3 separate regions of the Homo sapiens genome follow, and regions 2 and 3 are each linked to region 1. The links are contacts of gene promoters, found by promoter capture Hi-C in blood cells and fetal thymus (Javierre and others, 2016). All regions are on one chromosome and are shown on one strand. Each heading gives the region's core, a stretch centred on a gene start or on the middle of the fragment in contact. The rest is flanking DNA. Distances are from core to core; before and after follow the strand shown.

Region 1 (3,648 bases), core at 623-3,122:
TTAATCTTTTGAAGATCTTGTCAAACCTTAAAAAAAAAAAAAAAGAGCTCTGCCTTAAATATTGCTTCTGTGAGAATATTTTGCCTGTTTAAGAAAATACAGCTTTGAGTACAATCCAATTGAAGTGTCAAGTCCTGCCAGATAACCATGGTAGAATTAGAGCTTCTGAGCTGGATTGGGATTGAGGTTGGACGCTGGCTCTGCCATTAACTGGCATGTTTCATCATTTGTTTTATTTGATGTTGAAATTATGCTTATAATTTTATTTTACACCACTTTCCAGTATGACATCAGTGTCTTTGGCACCTTGGGCTTTATTAGTTCATGAAATGGAAGCTTCTGTTTCCTTAAAAATGCCTTGACTCTCTTGCTAATGTTGTGATAATGTTTCCAACTCTTTCTAGGGCTATAATATCTATGCTGCTTGTTTGCAAATACTTGGGAAGTGGTGGTTGATCTAAAGATACTCAGAAAGAATGGGGAGAAAATTAAGGCTTCTGACACTTTTCCCAACATTTCTGTTATCATCACCAAGAATTAACTAGATGATTCTTTAATGCCCCACTACTTTATTCTGCTATTTTATTTCTTCAGTCTGTTTTTGACTCTTATAATGACACCACTGGAAGTTAAGTCTAAACATTACCTTTAGGCTGGAGAGCTCTGGGGTCAAGATTGACTAGATTTAAAACCCAGCTCAGCCATTCTCTAGCTATCTGGTCTCTGGTGAGTTCCATCGCCTGTAAAACGGGGATTAAAAAGGGGAAAATACTGAGTATGTACTATTTGCTAGGCACTAGTTGGACAATTTATGATCCATTTAATCAATCTTCTGCTAGGCAGGGATCCCCATTTTATTATGGTTAAAAAGCTGTAATAAAAGCCAATTGACCTAAAGCTCTCACAAGTAAATAGCTGGAGCCCAGGTTTGTCTCTAAAGCACATGCTCTTTTCACTACGCGACATAAAAAAAACTTTATTAATCTTTTTTTCCAGATTATGTTTCAAGGGTTCCCACTGCTGTTGAATAATTAATTCCTTTTAGATGTACAAAAGCAAGTGCAAAGTAAAAGAAGAAAAGCTAAATGGGGAAGGTGTGTAATATGAGAGGCAGGGGGTAAGGAAAAATGAGAAGTCTGCAAAGGAATTTACGTCCTATCTGCTTAGCATTACACAGTGGAAGCCCACGTCAGACATTTGTGTTGCAGTCCTGCCTGCTCAGGGGTTGCTGGGTGACCTTCTGCAAATTACCTCATCTTTCTGGGTTTCAATTTAAGTATGCCTGAAATGAGGCGGTTGAATTGATCTCCAAATTCCCTTCTGGTGCTAAACTTCCAGCCTTGTAGCCACTGACGCCTTCACCATCCCAGCCTGTTTTCCCTTGGTACCGGACCAGCTGCCCTTGCCCGAACCCTGTTCTTCCTCGACTGCGAACTTTCTAACGTACTCACAGGTTCTAAACTCTACCGTTCCTCGTGACCGAGGGACTAAAGGGCCCGGGCAGGGGCTCAACTCTGAGAGAAAAAAAGGCAAGAAAACTCCAAAGTTGGACAGCAAGCGTCAAAAGACTGCACAGCAGGAAGGCGAAACCGAACAGAACTGCTGCTGCGCGGCGACAGCTGAAGTGGGTGGAGAACGGGAGGGCGGGGGAGGCGGGGCCGAGAGCGATTGGAAGGACGAGGGGGCGGAGCCCGCGCTGACAGCCCCCGGGGAGGAGCGAGGGAAGCTCTGCGGGCTGCGGCGGCCGGGTCCCGCCCCTTTGCTTCCCCTCCCCAGCACCAGGCGGGCGTGGCAGCAGGCGTGCCGACGCAGCGTGACTTCACAAGGGGAGGGGCGGGCCGAGGGTCCTGCCGGCGCGCGGGCGTGTTCATCAGTCGCTGTTTGGGACGCTGGGTGTGCGGTGTTCTGTCTCCGCTCCCGTTTCGCTGTCACAGCCCGTTCCTTCCCGGAGCCCGGGACAGGCTGGGCGCGCGCCCGTGTGAGTGAGCGGGACTCAGGGCAGAAGTGTCCCCTCACTGCGTTTTTTTTTCCTTTTATCCAAAGAACGGGGCAGTTAGTACGCTTGCCTTCCTGTCGCCCGGTTGGGAGCGGGGTTGGTGTGCGGAGTGGTTCGCCTTTTTTTCTTTAGAACTTGTGAGCCTTTTTTTTTTTTTTTTTTTTTTTTCTTTTTTTAGGCTCAGTGCTGTCCGGGCTGGTTTGCCCGGTCCCTGACTAACGGCTTTCTGCCCCTTCTCTCGCCACCCCTGCCCAAGGTCGCCCCTCTGCCTTCGCCCCTGTCCCGGGAGGGTGGGAAGCTTTGACCCCGCCCTGCCCACTCGCGTCTCCGCAGCCGTAGCCGCGCCTGTCCCAATATGAATAGGGTCAACGACCCACTTATTTTTATAAGAGATATTAAGCCCGGACTGAAAAACTTAAATGTCGTCTTTATTGTCCTGGAGATAGGTAAGTGGGGTTTGCAGCCTACTCCACCGCCCGCTGTGCCTCCCGGGGCGGGAGACAGGGGCGCCGGCCGCTGCGCGCCCGGGGCTCCCCTCCTCCTCCCTCCCCTCCCCCACCCACGTGGCTCTAGTGGCCTCCGCCCGAGATCGGATCCTACCTGAGGCGGGAGCCCTGGGCTTGGTCACTTCCCACCTTCCAGATGTATTAAAATACCGGAGGAGGAGTTAGCCTTTCTGGATGTCCTCATTATCTAACAACCCCTCCCTTTGATTTTTAAATCCTCACAGGACGCGTGACCAAAACCAAAGACGGCCATGAAGTGAGATCGTGCAAAGTAGCAGATAAAACGGGCAGCATCACTATTTCCGTGTGGGATGAGATCGGAGGTCTTATACAGCCAGGGGATATTATTCGGTTGACCAGAGGGTAGGTGTGCAAAAAAGTCGGGGGACCTAACAGTCTGCAGAATCGGGATTGGCCGGCTCCTGGGATCTTGGCAAGCCCTGAAGTCCCCCGCCTTTTCTGTGGGCCACTCTTGAGGAGTTTTGAACTCCTTTGGTGTTAACTTTGGGTGGTGGGCAGCGCTGGGATGTAACAGACCTTTGCAGTGAAAGGCAGTCGGTTTCAGCTGGGAAATCCGCGCCTCTACCCCGGTTTACAGGTTAAGTAGATTTTTAATTATTATTATTTTTTGGGACCGAGTCTCGCTCTGTCGCCAAGCTGGAGTGCAGTGGCGTGATCTCTCCTCACTGCAGCCTCCGCCTCGCGGGTTCAAGAGATTCTCGTGCCTCAGCCTCCCAAGTAGCTGGGACTACAGGCGTGTGCCACCACGCCCAGCTAAGTTTTGTATTTTTAGCAGAGACGGGGTTTCAGAGTGTTGCCCAGGCTGGTCTCCAACTCCTGACCTCAAGTGATCCGCGCGCCCCAACCTCCCAAAGTGCTGGGATTACAGGCGTGAGCCACCACGCCCGGCATAGATTTTTAGTTCTATTCTGAGTCAGTGAGTCTTTTTAGGAGACTGGTATAGTCCATATTTTTTCTTTTTTATAAGTTGTTTTCTCTAGTGTAGTTGCCACTCAGTTGTTTCCCACCCCTTCTCCATTTTTAATGACTTGAAATCCTGGCCAGTATTTTACATATGTTATTTAGAAATGTGGACATAAATGAAAATTATAGGTAAAGGATTTAGCATATTCTGTGATATGTCAA
Region 2 (3,648 bases), core at 572-3,071, 5.8 Mb after region 1:
CTCCAATTTATATAAATACAGAGCATTTTTTGCATGGTTTAATGTATACTGAATTCCCAGGTACACAAGTACCATGTAAATTGAGGGAAGAATTATACTTTCCATTTTTTTCTTTTTTTTTTTTTGTGGAGACAGTCTCACTTTGTCACCCAGGTTGGAGTGCACTGGCACTGTCATGGCTCACTGTAGCCTCCACCTTCTTCCCAGGCACAGGTGATCCTCCCACGTCCGCCTCCTTGAGTGACTGGGATTACAGGCATGCACCACCATGCCCTGCTAATTTTTGTATCTTTTGTAGAGATGGGGTTTTGCCATGTTGTCCAGGCTGGTCTTGAACCTTCTGGGCTCAAGCAATATGCCTGCCTTGGCCTCCCAGACTGCTGGGATCACAGGCCTGAGTGAGCCACCATACCTGGCAGCTTTTTTTATTTTTTAGAACTTTAAGAGTTGGTCAATATTTCGGAAAATCAACTTCTGTACATTAAAGTTAGGACATTACCTTATTTTTTTTTTTTAATGGTGATGGGTTATATTTATGCTTTTCTATTTGACACTAGTTTGTCAGAGTTGGAAAACAGCCACATGCTCACCTAGTCAGTGTGACCTCAATGTAGTTGAGATGAGAAACAGGAAGACTTCAGTGTAGTTTCTAACCTGATACTGGCATTTAATATCAGGCATATGATGTCCTATCAAGTTTCTGAAAGACAACGTGAAAAAGGCATCACATAGTCCTTGAGGGGTGATCGTCCTTGGCGGCCAGCAGCAATGACAAAGCAGTGAGCGCACCAGGGTCACCCCGCTCAGCTGTGGTACATTTTTCCCTTGGCTCAGCTGTAATCCATAGTTTCACCCCAATTAACTTCCCAGATACATTGCGTCTTTTAAGCTTTGTTTTGTATTGCATTGGAAAGAACAGTGCTGAGAAGCTCTCCATGGTTACCTGAGCCTCAGTGACCACCATCTTCACCTGAAGCTGCCCAGCATCCAGTGACCAAGTATCTAAGGCCACTTAGCAATACTGGAGTTGCTCTGGTATCCTCCAAGTGTTTTTTTATGTCTTGTTTTATTTTAGGAAAATTTAATTCTGGAGTGAACATTTTTTTTTTTTTTGAGACAGTTTCTCTGTTGCCCAGGCTGGAGTGCAGTGGCATGATCTTGGCTCACTGCAATCTCCGCTTCCCGGGTTCAAGCAATTCTCGTGCCTCAGCCTCCCAAGTAGCTGGGCTACAGGCGCCTGCCACCATGCCCTGCTAATTTTTTGTATTTTTAGTAGAGACGGGGTTTCGCCATGTTAGGATGGTCTCGATCTTCTGACCTCATGATCCACCTGCCTTGGCCTTCCAAAGTGCTGGGATTACAGGCGTGAGCCACCGCGCCCGGCTCATTTCATTTTTAAAAACTTAACACTGCTACATAATTTGGTTAAAAAAAAAATCTAAGGCAAGTAATTGCAGCTACTTGGAAGGCTGAGGCAGGAGAATGGCTTGAACCTGGGAGGCGGAGGTTGTAGTGAGCTAAGATTGCACCACTGCACTCCAACCTGGGTGACATAGACTGTTTTGAAAAAAAAAAAGTATATATATGATACATATACATATATGATATATGTGATATATACACACATGTATATACGTGTGTGTGTGTGTGTGTGTGTGTGTGTGTGTGTGTGTATATATATATATATATATATATATATATATATATGATAGCTAACATTGGCTGAGTGCCTTCTCTCTGGGGTGAGCACTGTGTGATAGGATAGCTAACCGGAGCATTTTCTAGGTGCTGGTTACTGTTGAAGGTGCTTTTCATGTATTAATTGGTTTAATCTTTCAACAACCCTATGAGATAGGTACTGTTCTCAACCTGCAGATGAGAAAGCTAAGGCATAGAAGGGGTTAAGTAATAACCAAGGTTGCTCAGTGGTAAGTGGCAAAGCCAGGATTCAGACACAGTCCATCTCCAGATGTTACTGTTTAAAACTTGATCCTTTATAGCCTTTGCTACTTTGTTAATTCTAAGCACTTAATACACATTATTTCAATTAATCCTGGTGATACCCACTGTGGTATGGGGAATGGGTAGTACCAAATGATGTATGTCACTTAAGTTCCTAGTACACCATGTGTTGAATTTAACAAAACTGAGTCAAAGCAGAGGATAAATAGCTTGATATAGCTGTAGCAGCTAGGGAGAAGACTTAAGATTCAAACCCAATAATACTACACTAGAATTTGGTTGGGTGCGGTGGCTTGTGCTCGTAATCCCAGCACTTTGGGAGGCCGAGGTGGGCAGATCTCTTGAGATCGAGACAGCCTGGGCAATATGGTGAAACCCTGTCTTTACAAAAAATACAAAAAGCTACTCAAGGGGCTGAGGTGGGGAGGTTAAGGCTCTGGTGAGCCGAGATTGTGCCACCACACTGCAATCTGGGTGACAGAATGAGACCCTGTCTTTAAAAAAAAGAATCCTACGCTAGAATTGATTACCAACCCTTAAACTCAACTATCAGCTACCAGCTGTCTTAGTAGTCAAACTTATTTTCTAGGTTTAATTATCCATAAACTAGTCTGATAATGTCTTTTAAAGGTTGTGTCCCGTATTTATTTTGAGAGGAATTAAAATTTAAAGTTTTAAATGGCATGGAATAATGATCTCAACTTTTGATCATCTTCCCATCTGTAAAGTAGTAGGTACTTCCACTATATGTATATTTACGTTTATGCACGTGTTACTGCCTTTGGTGTACTAAAGCTTACTTTTTGTCAAACTTCGATACTGGAATTATGCCTAAAAGTTATTTCTTATATTGTCTAAGTGGATTATCAATTTCATACTCTACTCACGCACAGCTAGATAATATGCTTTGCTCATCATAATCTTGGGAGCACAGATTTTTCTGTATTACCAATGAGAAACCTTGACTTAAGAGATAAGAAATCGTTCCAAGGACATGTGGCTAATATATTGTAGAGTAAGGAATCTGTTCAAAGGCTATGGCTTTCCCATTATTCTCCAATGCTATTTTCCTAAGACCCAGCAAATTAGTTTTGATATCTAAGGTAATAGTTCACAAAGCTTGGTTCATCTTTGCAATTGCCTGGTAAACTTAAAATTTCAGGGCCTCATCCAAACCTACTAAATCAGAAGGATAAGAGAATTTTTGAACCACAGAAGCAGTCCTATTGTGATGCCTGCCTAGCAGAATTGCTAAAGAAATAATTTTTTTTCTTTTTTTTTTTCTTTTGAGACGGAGTCTCACTCTGTTGCCCAGGCTGGAGCACAGTGGCACGATCTCGGCTCACTGCAAGCTCCGCCTCCCGGGTTAATGCCATTCTCCTGCCTCAGCCTCCTGAGTAGCTGGGACTACAGGCGCCTGCCACCACGCCCGGCTAATTTTTTTGTATTTTTAGTAGAGACGGGTTTCACCATGTTAGCCAGGATGGTCTTGATCTCCTGACCTCGTGATCCGCCGCCTCGGCCTCCCGGAGTGCTGGGATATTTTTCTTTTTTTTGAGACAGAGCCCTATTCTGTCTATCTGGCTGAAGAGCAGTGGTGTGATTATAGCTCACTGCAGCCTCGAACTCCTGGGCTCAAGCAATCCTCCCACTTCAGCCTCCAGAGTAGCTGGAAGTACAGGCCTG
Region 3 (3,648 bases), core at 514-3,013, 5.1 Mb after region 1:
AAAAATTATAGTTTAATATATCAGCAAATGAATTGAAAATGAAATTAAAAGATGATCCTATCTTCAGTGTGTAAGAACGGTGTGAACAGCAAGAATTTAGTGGTGTATTTAGTACTGTCCAGAGGAAAAGGACAACTAGTGACCATATATTTCAATTAGCTGACTGCCAAAGCTTGTTCAAAACTGACCCCTTCTGCTCTGAATACATGCTCATACTCACCAAGAGTCTTGGTAGAGTTCTGGGACAATTCCTTACTAGGAAATTAGGAGCTTCACATCTTAAAAGGATGTATGACATTATCTGAGCTGAAGCCAGCCAGTCCTTGTGGGCCTGACTGCTCATCATGAGCCTGAATTGGACTCAGCTCACTCCTTTTTTAGGGCCTGATGGCTAGCTTTTGGGAGCAGCTTTAGGTAACAGGACTGACAGGCACCCACTTGTGCCTGCTGCTATAGTAGCAACTTAAACACCTGAGGAAAAAAGAGCAGCTCCTCCCTTCAGCAGATAAGGAAGGACACACAAATTGTGAGAACAACTTCAGTCAGCTGCCTTTTTTTCTTCATCTTTTAAGTTCAGGAGTACATGTGCAGGATGTCCAGGTTTGTTACATAGGTCAACATGTACCATGGTGGTTTGCTGCACAGATCATCCCATCACCTAGATATTAAGCCCAGCATCTATCAGCTGTTCTTCCTGATGCTCTCCCTCCCGCAACACCCCTAATCCAAAAGGCCCCAGTGTCTGTTGTTTCCTCACCCCCTTTTGTCCCTGTGTTCTCATCATTCAGCTCCCACTTATAAGTGAGAACATGCGGTGTTTGGTCTTCTGTTCCTGTGTTGGTTTGCTGAGGATAACGGCTTCCAACTCCATCCATGTCCCTGCAAAGGACATGATCTCATTCCTTTTTATCAGCTGCCTTTTCCACCCCACTTTCCTGGCAGAATAAGAAACTGTAACCCCCAGTTTTCCCTCCTCTTTGCCCTTTTTTCCTCACTTGGTCCAGGGAGGTAGGAACAAATCTTGTTTGTTTTCTGCCCATGCTATGACTGTCTGTTCTCTGTGTAAACACTTACTTGTTTTGAGGGAAAAGAACCAGACTGTACTTCTAACCCCTAGAACTAGACAGTTGTTATCAGACCCTATACATGAAGCTACATTCTAACTGACAGTTTAGCATCCCAGTTAACTTGATATGGTAGTAAATGGATACCCTGAGATATTATCAGCATTCTGATCCCTGGAAAAGGGTATCAATCACTGAACATTAATAAATTTGCTTACTAATTAATTAGGCTACGATGAGTTTAAATAGTCTGGGTGCACTAACCAAATTTAATATCTGGACATGCAAAGCTGAGGACTGGATGCTAGAATGAGGTAGCCTACCAAGACACCTGTGCTGTGTGTGAAGTTCCATGAGGGCAACCAACTTGCCTTCCACGCTAACATTTCTATCTTTTCTCCCTGTAACTAAAGCAGTGGTTTGGAAGCCACTTTATATCGAAGTGTAATTCATTACAATTTGAGGAAGTATAGTCTGGAAGTGATTAGTTACCAACTGAGAGGGCCAATTTAAAAAATAATCTTAAAAAGCTCCCAAACAAATACTGATGTCAATTTAAAACACTTTTCCAACACCAGAGCTCACAAAAAATAACCATCAGGGTATTCAATAACTCAACAAATATTTATTGGGCACCTACTATATAACCAAGCATTCTGTTCCTGAAAAACCAGGTAATCAACAACAGAGTATCACTGCCATGAAAATACAATGTTTCACTAAATTACTTTGCTTACATACTCTAAACATTCATTGCAGGAAGCACATAATTTTAACATACCTTCATTGACATCTTTGTCTTGGGATTTGGTAGAGTTAATTCCTGATGATGATGGAACTTCAGAGTCATCGGGATTTTCTTCAGCTGATAACTTGCCTTTTTCCTGAAGACTCTGTGATTGCAAATTAATTAATGATTCCAAAAAATAATGCAGACTTAGCTCTCCCCAGCCACAGAGTATCTGGTTCTAGTCCTAGCTTTGCCACTCGGGCATTTTGTGACCATGGGTTGGCAGTTTATAGAATAGGGCATTTGCCTAATTTTCTATTCCTACAAAACTTGAGCTGTGAACACATACACAGTAGATGGAATCTAAATTTGAATACTGTCAAAGCATTTCAAAGTACTTATATCTTACCCTTCAATCTGTCATTTGTAAAAAAAAATAAATAAAATATCTTAATAATTTCATTAATGAACATATTGTATCCTAATATTTTAAATAAAAAATGACTTGGTGGCTCACATCTGTAATCCAACCACTTTGGGAGGCCGAGACAGGCGGATCCCTTGAGCTCAGGAGTTTGAGACCGGCCTGGGCAACATGAAGAAACCCTGTCTCTACAAAAAATACAAAAATTAGCAGAGTGTGATGGCTCACACCTGTGGTCTCAGCTACTTGGAGGCTGAGGTAGGAGGACTGCTTGAGTCCGGGAGGCGGAAGTTACAGTGAGCTGAGATCGCGTCACTGCACTCCAGCATGGGTGACAGAGCCAGACTCTGTCTGAAAATAAAATAAAATAAAATAAATAAAAAGATAAGTCCCTACTACTCGCATGAATTATTAAAGAATCTGCCGGCCGGGCAAAGTAATCCCAGTACTTTGGGAAGCCGAGGCAGGCGGATCACGAGGTCAGGAGTTTGAGACCATCCTGGCCAACATGGTGAAACCCCGTCTCTACTAAACATACAAAAATTAGCCGGGCATGGTGGCAGGCGCCTGTAGTCCCAGCTACTCGGGAGGCTGAGGCAGGAGAATCGCTTGAAACCAGAAGGCCGAGGTTGCAGTGAGCCGAGATCGTGCCACTGCACTCCAGCCTGGGCAACAAGAGCGAAACTCCGTCTCAAAAAAAAAAAAAAAAAAAGAATCTGCCTTCGAACTTAAAAATTTAAAAAGGTTGCATTACTTTTATTTTCTCTTGCACTTGAAGTAAGCAAGAAGATACAGTAAGTTCAGATATTTCTAAGTATGGGGAAAAAAAAGGTATGGGTGAAGATTATCTTCTTATCGGACAATACTTTTTTATGGACTATTACTTCACACCAGTGGGAGACTCCTCAAAAACAGGAGCTCAATCGTTCCAGTTCAGAAAAGGAGACATTGGGGCCTAAAGAAGAGAAGTGAGCTGTCCACCCACCGTCACAAAACGACTTAGTGGCAAAGCTAGGACTAGAACCTGAAACTGACTCCAAACTCTTCTCCCCACCTCCCATTTAACTTACCAGCGTTAAGCTACCCTGAAATAAAAACGTAGTATTGGGGGAAAAAGAAGAGGTTACCACCAAGACGAAAGCTTTTCGGTGGGGGAAAACGTTTTAAGGAGCTTAGCACAGGGATGAGGGGTGAAAACCGGAGTTTCTGTAAGATAAGGAAGAAGCTGCTGAAAGTTCCCAGCCCGCCCCATCACAGTGAAAGCGGTCGTCTGGGTCCCCCACACCTAAGGGTATGAAGGCAACAAGAGTGAAGGGCACCGTGGCCTAGCATCGCCTCACTTTCTTCTCGCGGGTTTTTCTCTCTTCTCTCCGCCGTTCGAACTCCTCAAAGGAGATTTTCCCTTCCAAGTAGTCGATGAGTTCCGGACT

The links. Contacts are between HindIII fragments. The CHiCAGO score rates a contact against its expected background, and 5 or more counts as called.
Region 2: a contact is called between a fragment that was not itself captured here and the fragment with the promoter of NABP1 in region 1, in 1 of 17 cell types (fetal thymus). The highest score is 5.4, in fetal thymus.
Region 3: a fragment that was not itself captured here is called in contact with the fragment with the promoter of NABP1 in region 1 in 2 of 17 cell types (naive CD8 T cells and non-activated CD4 T cells); the score reaches 11.0 in naive CD8 T cells.

Annotation. Positions count from the first base shown.
Region 1 is chr2:191,676,264-191,679,911 of GRCh38, forward strand. It overlaps NABP1 (nucleic acid binding protein 1), which reads left to right and starts at 1,873. Exons shown (of 6, transcript NM_001031716.5): 1 at 1,873-2,442; 2 at 2,727-2,865. The coding sequence starts at 2,352. RefSeq lists enhancers at 1,425-1,504, 1,714-2,216, 3,044-3,648 and silencers at 1,565-1,914, 2,515-2,574. The HindIII fragment of the contact is 1,958 bases long and covers 335-2,292 here.
Region 2 is chr2:197,503,979-197,507,626 of GRCh38, forward strand. All of the region lies in intron 2 of HSPE1-MOB4 (HSPE1-MOB4 readthrough), which reads left to right. Among named protein-coding and RNA genes, the nearest start is that of HSPE1-MOB4, 5.4 kb to the left of the region's middle. The HindIII fragment of the contact is 1,868 bases long and covers 888-2,755 here.
Region 3 is chr2:196,795,952-196,799,599 of GRCh38, forward strand. It overlaps GTF3C3 (general transcription factor IIIC subunit 3), which reads right to left. Exons shown (of 18, transcript NM_012086.5): 1 at 3,559-3,648; 2 at 1,846-1,957. Among named protein-coding and RNA genes, the nearest start is that of GTF3C3, 1.9 kb to the right of the region's middle. The HindIII fragment of the contact is 3,187 bases long and covers 171-3,357 here.